Linked DNA regions of Homo sapiens: region 1 is linked to region 2. The links are contacts of gene promoters, found by promoter capture Hi-C in blood cells and fetal thymus (Javierre and others, 2016). All regions are on one chromosome and are shown on one strand. Each heading gives the region's core, a stretch centred on a gene start or on the middle of the fragment in contact. The rest is flanking DNA. Distances are from core to core; before and after follow the strand shown.

Region 1 (4,430 bases), core at 1,529-4,028, 920 kb after region 2:
TTAGTGAACACTAGTGATGTTTGAATAAGGGGAAGAAAGTCTGACTTTATGCCCTGGATAAAAGGCAAGTAAGGACAGGCAGACCAGCTTTTTCCAGTTTCCAATTATTCTATTCATATTTCACTGGCTTCTAGGCTTTCTCGCTTTTAAGATACAGAAACATCTATGGTTGTTTAAACAAGAATTACTGGTAAAAGACCTATAAGCTTATGTCTTCACATTTTGAGAAACAAAGCAAGGTAACTTCCCATGAGATTAGTTATTTTTTAATTGTTGTATTCTTTCCTCATGGTTATACATAACATTGAAATTTTCAGGAACAAGAAGCCCCTAAAGGGCACAACTGATCATTGGCTTTCAGGGCAAACTGTGCTTTGTAAAAATGCATTCAAAGCTAAGGAGGAAAGACCAGATCCTTTAAAAAATAACTGAATATGCTTTTCTGAGTAAGCCCCAATACTGTTTTTGTGATCGACAGCAAAACAGGAACCTATTACTGCCCACAAATAATTTTAGAAATAGTGGTTGATGCATGCCGTAATTATAAAGTTTGCTTGTGTCCCAGTGGCACTTGGGGTTCTAATTTTTGGCTGACAGTTTCTTAATCAAGTTTTCACAACAAAACCTCACAGATATGTTAAAGGGACAATCACTGAACTATAGGATTTCCAACAGCTATGCTGCCTAATTAAGCAAACCATCATTCTGTTAAAAGTAGCATGCTTCCTTGGTTGACACATCAATAATTCAAAACTCTTCCACTCTCCATGAAATAACGTTTATGGATAATTAACTGATGACAAAGTCCAAAGGCTCAGGGAAAAGAAACACTTTGGATAACACTACTGAAAGAAAACAACTGCTTAAATTTTCAGGCTTCCTAGAATGTCAGAGGTATGATTCAGTCAAGTAATAAGCTCACATTTATATTCTCAACTCTCTGCCAAAAGCATAATTATATTTGTTTTAACAAGAAAATTTATTCGTAAGAATAGCTAAATACATCTGAAAATGATATCAATATATGATTAAAGAAACAGAACATAAAACATTTCATAAAGTTTAAAAATTGGAGTAGATACGTAAAAATGTTAACAATGTTTTGTCACACCATTTATCACAAGGGTCAGTGAAAAAATGTGTGGTGTGTGTGTATGTGTTTGTACGTATACACACACACACACACAAATGCAGAGAGAGAGACAGAGAATGAGAAAGTAAATATAGCAAAATGTTAGCAATTGGTGAATCTAAGTAAAACGTATATGAATAATTACTACACTACTCTTGAAACTTTTCCAATTATTTGAAAATTTTCCAATCAAAATAGGTAAATACATACAACAAAGTAAAAAAAAATCTCAGTGAATATGTACTGCGGTGAAATTAGGAATTTTAATTTCTCCTTTCTTTTTAACATTTATAATTTTCCTATAATAAATACATATTGTTTCATTATAAACTTAAAATACAGACTTAAACATAGCAGATTTTTAAAGACAAAGTTTTCTCTTTGGTAGCCATTGATAATTAAACTTGATTTTCTCATTAACAACTTGATGGGATGCTTCAATTCAATTTTTTCAAGCCTGATTCTGTGACAGACAAAGCAACACTTATCCAAGAAACTGAGTGAAACAGCTTTGAGGCAGTCACTCTTTTCTTGCATTACCTTATTTTCCTGCACAGAAGTAGAGCACAGTAAATGAGGATAAATGGTCTCTTTAAGCACTCTTCCATCAGCAGGGTATATGCTTTTTGAAAGCCCACTGCGTGGCAAAAATAAAAAGCAAAGTTTAGAACTTTGAGGTTCTTTATTCGTTTTTTTTCCCCCTCCCACTTTCAAAAGCCGGATGGTACCGTTCAAGTTTCTAAACTCTAGTTAGAAATTGTTGGGTTAATAATTACAAGTGACTTTTTGAAAACCCAGCACCAGCTGTACAAGTTATACATGGTTAATCTCATTCCTCCATCCCCTGCTGTTTTGTACAAAGGCTGAAGCCTACCAAGCCCAGAGTAAATCTTCTAGTGCCAAAGTTGTTTTGTTCTGGTTTTTGATCATGGGCAGCATGCAGGGATTTTTCCATAATAAACCTCCCAAAGTTCATTTTCTACCTGAATGTTTTGTATGCCGCTCCCATCTGAGCCCACCTGTTCAGCAGCTGATAGATGTAACTGTGACCATCTTCTGTCCAGATGAGGATTCTGTGAGCAGCAATCACTTCTCCACCAGCAAAGAACTGCCCATTTCTACTAACTTCAGTCAGCAGAAGGGAAAAATCACAATAATCATAAACCTAAAATATGAAGTTGATGCACATTATCAAAGGCTTAAATCTAGTCTGCCAATAAGATGAATATAAATTATGATAGTAATAATATAACAACATAGTAAGCGTTAATAACAGACCATACTGTACTCTCATATTAAGATGATATTTTACCATGACTTATTGACTTATATTTATCTTAGGGTAGGTTTCAGGGGATACAGTTCATCTGGTTATATCATTCCAGAGTGTGTACACTAAACATAGAAACCCCAAATCCCAAAATTTCTAAGTAATTTTATTCTTTCCATAATGAGTACTCCAAGTTTTACATTTGAAAATGTATTATGCACATAAAAAATATATATCACGTAAATCTTTTGCTAGACCATATACTTTTAAATCTTTGTTCAAAAATACATTATCACCACACAAGTAAGACTGTATAGTTTTGTTAACTGAGCCAGTTATAAAAAACTTTAAAGAAAAATAAATGTTATGAAATGATGGCAACTTAGCTTTTCTTTCTTCTTGGAAATGTCAGCGAACATATTCACAAGAAAATAACGTTTGTCCCTCTTAAAACAAATGTAGTGACAAAGTAGAAAAAGTAAAACATCTAAAAATATAATCAAACTATGTAGGTGAAAAGTATATTTTTAGTTCTGAAATGTAAACACCAAATTTTGAAAACAATTTAGAGCTAAATATTCATTGTTATTATGGTTTGTTACTAAAATTAGGATATGCTACTACATATATAATATCTTGGGATACAAAACTGTTGCATATACCATGATATTAAATATGTAGTAGTATATCCTAATTTTATTAATTAGAGAGTTAAAAACTGATATGTCAGGCCGTGTCCAGTGGCTCACGCCTGTAATCCCAGCACTTTGGGAGTCTGAGGTGGGCAGATCACGAGGTCAGGAGTTTGAGATCGGCCTGACCAACATGGTGAAACCCGGTCTCTCCTAAAAATACAAAACTTAGCCGGGCATGGTGGCATGCGCCTATAATCCCAGCTACTAGGAGGCTGAGGCAGGAGAACTGCTTGAACCTGGGGGGTGGAGGTTGCAGTGAGCTGAGATCGTGCCGCTGCACTCCAGCCTGGGAAACAGAGTGAGACTGTCAACCACCCCACCGCCAAAAAAAAAAACTGTTACGTCAGTCATAAAAGACACATCATTCCATGTTCTGGTAATACTATTACAGAGAATTTGTATCATATTTAAATCATATTCTTATTTTTGTACAAAACAAAAAAAATTACACTTGTACATCACTGGTATTTATTATGTTACTTTATAATACCTTCCAACATTTAGAAAATACCACCAATAGAAGTCTCTCAGTATATGTGCAAAATCGAATTGTCTGGCAGTTCAAGGACTCAAGAAACTTGGATTCTTTTTCATAGACATCTTGCTTTTCCTTCAAAAGGAAAGAAAATCTTTTAGTACTAGTTCCAGGTAATTCATACACAGCCATGAGAAGACCTGCTTCCCGTACATCTCAAGTAGATCACACCATTATAAAACGAAAAGTATCTGAGTTACCTTTTGAGTGTTTTGAACTAAGAAGTTACTTGGCAATAGAAGCTGTGTACCTGGGTGATGAAATAATCTGTACACCCAACCCCCACAACACTTAATTTACCTGTATAACAAACCTGCGTATGTACTCCTGAAAGTTTAAAAAAAAAAAAATTAAAAAATATAGGATGTATTTCTTGAAAAAAAAAAAAAGCTGTGATCAGGAAATCCACTTAGATTCAAGGGCTCATTACATGCAACCATTCAACAAACATTCTTTGGGGAACTACGGCTGGATGCTGAGAATGTCAAGATGAGAATAAGCTACAGACTGTTAGATATGGCAGAAAGGTCAAACAAAAAAATCTAAAATGATGACTAAAAAAACCTACAGTATTTTATTTTATTTTATTTTGTTGTATTTTATTTTATTTTATTTTATTTTATTTTATTTTATTTTATTTTATTTTTTCCTTGAGACACAGTCTTGCTGTGTCGCCAAGGATGGAGTGCAGTGGCAGGATCTCGGCTCACTGCAACCCCCGCCTCCCGGGTTCAAACGATTCTCCTGCCTCAGCCTCCTGAGTAGCTAGGATTACAGGTGCACTCCACCACTCCCTGC
Region 2 (4,645 bases), core at 325-2,824:
GCTCCTTGGCCGGCTCACCTGCTAAGCGGAGCGCGGACATGCGCTGGAACTCCGGCTCCTGCAGCCACTTCCACATCCTCCGGAAGGTCTCCCGGCCGGATTTGAGTTTGCTCCAGGGTTTGGGGTTGCGCAGCAGGTCCGAGAGGGTCCCCTGGGAGCGGCAGAGCACCCTCTGCGCGAAGATGGCCTGTGGGATGCTGTAGCGCTTGAGCTCGGTGGTGATACGCTGCGCCACCTCTTTGGTATTGATCTCTTCCATCTGCCCTGAATTACTTCCATTGCTGACCTGCGCGCCGGTCACCGAAGGGTTGGGCTCCCGGGCTGTGCCCAGGAGTTGCCCGTGGCCCTGGGCGTTCAGGTGGGCGTGGGGATGGTGCGGAGGAAGGCCGTTGATGGGCACCATGCCGGCCGAGGTGGGCGTGAGGTGCTGCTCCCCGTGGCGGCCGAGCATGGCCGGGTGGTGGGCTTCGAAGCCGTTGGGGGTGAGCATCTTGTCGGTGGGCATGGCGGCCCCCGGGTGGGCATAGTGGGGGAGCCCTTGCTGGGAGTTGTGGATGCTGCCCAGACCGGAGCTGGAGAGGGGCGAGAGGCTCTGGCCCATGCCGGCCACGTCCTTGTGGTAGGGGGTATAGAGGTTATTCATGGAGGCCAGCCCGCGCTCATCCCGCATGAGCGTGAAGCTACCGCTCACGTTGCCCGCCAGGCGCTGGTGGTGGTGCGGGTGGTGGTGGTGATGGTGGTGGTGGTGATGGTGGGGGAACTTGTCCGAGACTGTGGAGATGGGAGGCAGCGGCTGCAGAGGGGTCAAGGTGGTGTAGGTGGTGGGCATGCTCATACCTGGGGGAGTCTCGCAGGCCATGGTCATGGTGGGATGCAGGGGGCCGGCCAGGCTGTGCTCAGGGGCCCGGTGGTGGTGGTGGTAATCTCCGCCGCCGCTGCCGCCGTCCAGCAGGGACGCCATGCCCATGGAGCGCGGGTGCGCGGGGGGCAGGTGGCTGCCGCGGTGCGCCACGGAGCTGCGCGCGTGGGGGCTGCCGCCCAGCAGGTCGGCAGGGGCGGGCACCGGCTCATGGCTCACCCCGTGCAGCTCGCCGATCGCTTCCATGGTCAGCTGCGCGTTCATCGTGATCCGGGCGAGCAGGCGGCGGACACAACATCGATGTGGCCAGGCAGAGGCGGCGAGGGGCGCACGGAGTCCGGTCTTCACATCGGCTGCTGGCGACTGTTGCCTTCCTTCCTCTCACTGTGGGGCTCTGTCTCTCTCTCTCTCTCTCTCCGTGTGTGTGTGTCCGTGTGTGCGTGTGCGTGTGTGTGTGTGTGTGTGTCTCGCCTTCCCTCTTACCCCCCACCTTCCCCTCTGCGTCCTCGGCTTTTTTTTTTTTAATATTAATTTCCAAAGAGGATCCGCGCCGTTGGGAGAGCGCAGTGCCCCAGCCCGCCCGCCTCGGCCACCTCTCGCCCCTCTCTTTCTTAAAATTCTGAGGTCTCCGGCTCCCCTGCCGCGGCCCGCGCGCCTGCCGCGTCTGCTGCCTGCCCGCCCCGCTGGCCAGCTTGAGCCATGGCTCTGTTACTGTTACAGACTCTGTGGCCGCGGTTCGGTAGCCGCCGCCGCCGCCGCCGCAGCGGCCCGCCCTCACGCCCGCCAGGCGCAGCGCGCATGCGCGAGGCCCGCCCCCGCCCCCTAGGTCGCGGCGCGCCAGGCCCTTGGCGTCCCGGTACAAATGAAGGAGGGGGCCCAGCGCCTTCCCTGCGGCGCTGGATGGCCAGGGAGCTGCGGGCACGTGCGAAAGATTGGCGCAGAGCGCGACCTGGGGCCGCCGCTGCAATCCCAGGAGACTCGCGCCTGGCTCGCTCGCCTCCCTTGCTTGAGTGGGCTCTGTCCTCCCAGCCCGGGGACGCTCGTGTCGGGCTTCTAGCGGCTGGAGTGCTGTGCTTGGAGACATCGCCCCTCTCTCTCCAGTTGCTGCTTCCCGGTGCAGCTTGCCCGGGGAGCTGGGGACTGTGTCATCACCCCTTCGGCTCTAGCCCACTAAGCTTTATTTCCCGGGGGGCTGCTGGGAGTGCGCTTTCCCACCCTTGAATTCACGGCCTATTGGGGGATGGGGGTTGGGGTGGGGTGGGGTGCAGATTGCTTAAAGGGCTGGGTCCGTTTGGCGGCCGTTGACCCGGCACCCTTCGTCCTCCCAGATACATACTTGCCCACCCTTTCTCATCCATGCCCTGGGGAGAGGAGTAATCAGTGCCAAGAATCCCAGTTCGGGCCATACCTCACTGTCCCCCGCCGCCTGGCTCCTTCTCCCGCTCAGCTCATAATTAAGGCTGTGCGTCCGCTTCGCCGATGACTCGGCCTGTGGAGGGGGGCGAGGGAGAGCGGAGGGAGTGCCCTGGAGGGTACCCATGTTAACTTCCGGGTGCTGGTGGGGCCGTGGAGGCTCGGGCCGTCCCTGCGGTTACTCCCAAGGCCCTCCTGCTAAAGCACCCGGAGGCGGTTGCTTTCCAGAAGTACTGACGCAGACAGGGTGGACGCCGGCGCGCGGGTCTCCGCTTGGCCCCTAGGGACGCCCTTTTCCCGGCGTCCCCGAGAGACGCCTCCAGATTTGAAAATCAATTCAGCTTCGGGAGTAATTTCGCCCTTCCCACAGTCACGCTCCAATCTGGAATCGAACCTGGTCTTTGGGCCTGGTGGGGACGTGTGCGGAGGCCCCCAGTTTGAGACGTACACCCGGCCGCCACATGCCGCGGCTTTCTTTCATTTACAAAAGAAAGAAAAAAAATCCGCAACAAAAGGCAGAGCCGTGTCCGCTTAGGTGCTTTCATCCCTCAGAGAAAGGACAGATGTGCCCATTGTCCAGCCCGTGGCAGTTATGGCCGGGTCAGCGCCGAGCCTCAGCCCCAGGCAAGCGGTGGTTACAATGAGAATAGCCTCTCAGAGCCGGGGTATCTGGACTCAGATATGGAATAAAGTGTGTGTAGCCTGTGCTGGGCCAGACTCAGACTGTAGGTTTGCTTGCTGGGGCACCGAACTGCAGCCCACCCGTGGTGTTTCCACTGCAAATGCTCCCAAGCCCTTAGAGAGGCCAAGGCTGTGGTAGTGGTGGTAGTTGGGTTTCCAAGGCAAAAGTTTGGGCTGGCCAACCCTTTGGGAAAAGTTCCCACCGGCCCAGGCATGAGTAGGCCTATCTCTTTGCCCAGGTCCCTGCTACCACCAGGGCAACATCCTAATCCAGGTAGGTCAAGTTCAGTGGATACAGTCAACGTGACTTCCTTGAAGGCGGCCATGTCCTGGGACTGGTTAATCTAGCTGGTTTTATCACCAGAGGCACTCCCATCCTGTCCAAACAATGCATATGGAGGCCCTGCAAATAATTCATCTCAATGGATTTCATGTCTACTTTCATAATGAACAGTTAGGAATTTAGGAACCCCCAGAGAAGAAAAGATATTTTAGGGAAAATACACTGATGTAAAGGAACTCAGAAAACACGATTAACTCTTTAAACTTGTATCTATATCTACCTATTCATACACGCATACACACAAGCACAAAACATATATTTCCTGCCTAGTATATTACAGTACCTTGGTGGAAAGCTGCATCTTTGGTTTTTAATTGTTTCCATTCTCATTTCCTACAGCATGAGACCAAACAATGGGTTAAAGTAGCAGGGAGTCTTTCAGCTAAACAGTTGTCCCCCCGCCCCCGCCCCAATATTTTAATCCCGCTGAAGTGATTGATTTGCCCTTATGACAACTATCTTCCCAAAAGGCAGTTTGTTAAAAGAAAGAAAGAAGTAAATACCACCAAGTGCACAAATTGTTCATGGTTTTCTCTTTGTGTAGCTAATTAGGAACTTGATCTTGGAAACCCTCCTTCATGAGAGGCACTCAGCTGAGCCTCTGGAGTCCACCTGAATAAGGCTGGCATCAGGTGAGCTCAACTTCCCCTCTCCCCCAAGGGCATTTATGAAAAGGGGGGCTGGCTCTGTGTTGGTCCCTAAAGAAGGAGCCAACGAAAAGACCTGGAGAAGCACCATATGTGTTGGCTTGCTCAGTAATTTTTGATTTTTTTCTAAAACATTAAAATATTGTATGTGCAGGATTTGCTTTGGTTTGCAAATCTCCCTAATCTTTCTTGGCTATTCACACCATTTATCTAACCATTGTTCTCCCGTAATTGACTGAGTTGCAGTGGTTTCTCAGTCAGAAACAACATATTACTGTGTTCTTATTTGACCTCTCAAAATTTTTCTTCTTACTAAGGAAGTGACGGGTAGGAAGAATGCTCTTCTTAGGCCTAGTTAAGGTGAATTTGCATGTGTGGAGGGAGGACGGGCACTAGAGAGATTGTTAACTGCTGGAAGGCTGGGACTACTTTCTGTCGTTTTGTCCCTCTCCTTCTTTCCCCCTTCCAGTGCCCAGAACAGAGCCTGGCACCCATTAGGTACACTATGGGGATTGAAGGAATTAAGAGTCCACAGAGGAGTCCCTGGAAACTTGGTAGGTGTAGGTCAATGTGTGTGATTGAGGAGGAGGACTTATTTTTAGCTGCTTAGATTTTGAGTAGCTGCAGGAAATTTAAAGAAAAAAATAGTGTCAATCACTAGCAGAAAATTACATAATGTATATATGTAAGAAAAAAGGAAAT

What was found. The method cuts DNA at HindIII sites, captures the fragments that hold promoters and counts their contacts. A CHiCAGO score of 5 or more calls a contact.
Region 1: a contact is called between a fragment that was not itself captured here and the fragment with the promoter of ONECUT1 in region 2, in 1 of 17 cell types (megakaryocytes). The highest score is 7.6, in megakaryocytes.

Annotation. Positions count from the first base shown.
Region 1 is chr15:53,709,185-53,713,614 of GRCh38, forward strand. WDR72 (WD repeat domain 72) reads right to left here. Exons shown (of 20, transcript NM_182758.4): 7 at 3,588-3,707; 8 at 2,152-2,297; 9 at 1,673-1,769. Among named protein-coding and RNA genes, the nearest start is that of WDR72, 48 kb to the right of the region's middle. The HindIII fragment of the contact is 5,149 bases long and covers 205-4,430 here.
Region 2 is chr15:52,788,762-52,793,406 of GRCh38, forward strand. It overlaps ONECUT1 (one cut homeobox 1), which reads right to left and starts at 1,575. Exons shown (of 2, transcript NM_004498.4): 1 at 19-1,575. The coding sequence starts at 1,123. It overlaps LOC105370824 (a long non-coding RNA gene), which reads left to right and starts at 1,669. Exons shown (of 2, transcript XR_001751550.2): 1 at 1,669-3,928. RefSeq lists enhancers at 1,571-1,865, 1,862-2,630, 2,631-3,398 and a silencer at 1,613-1,682. The HindIII fragment of the contact is 8,870 bases long and covers 1-2,032 here.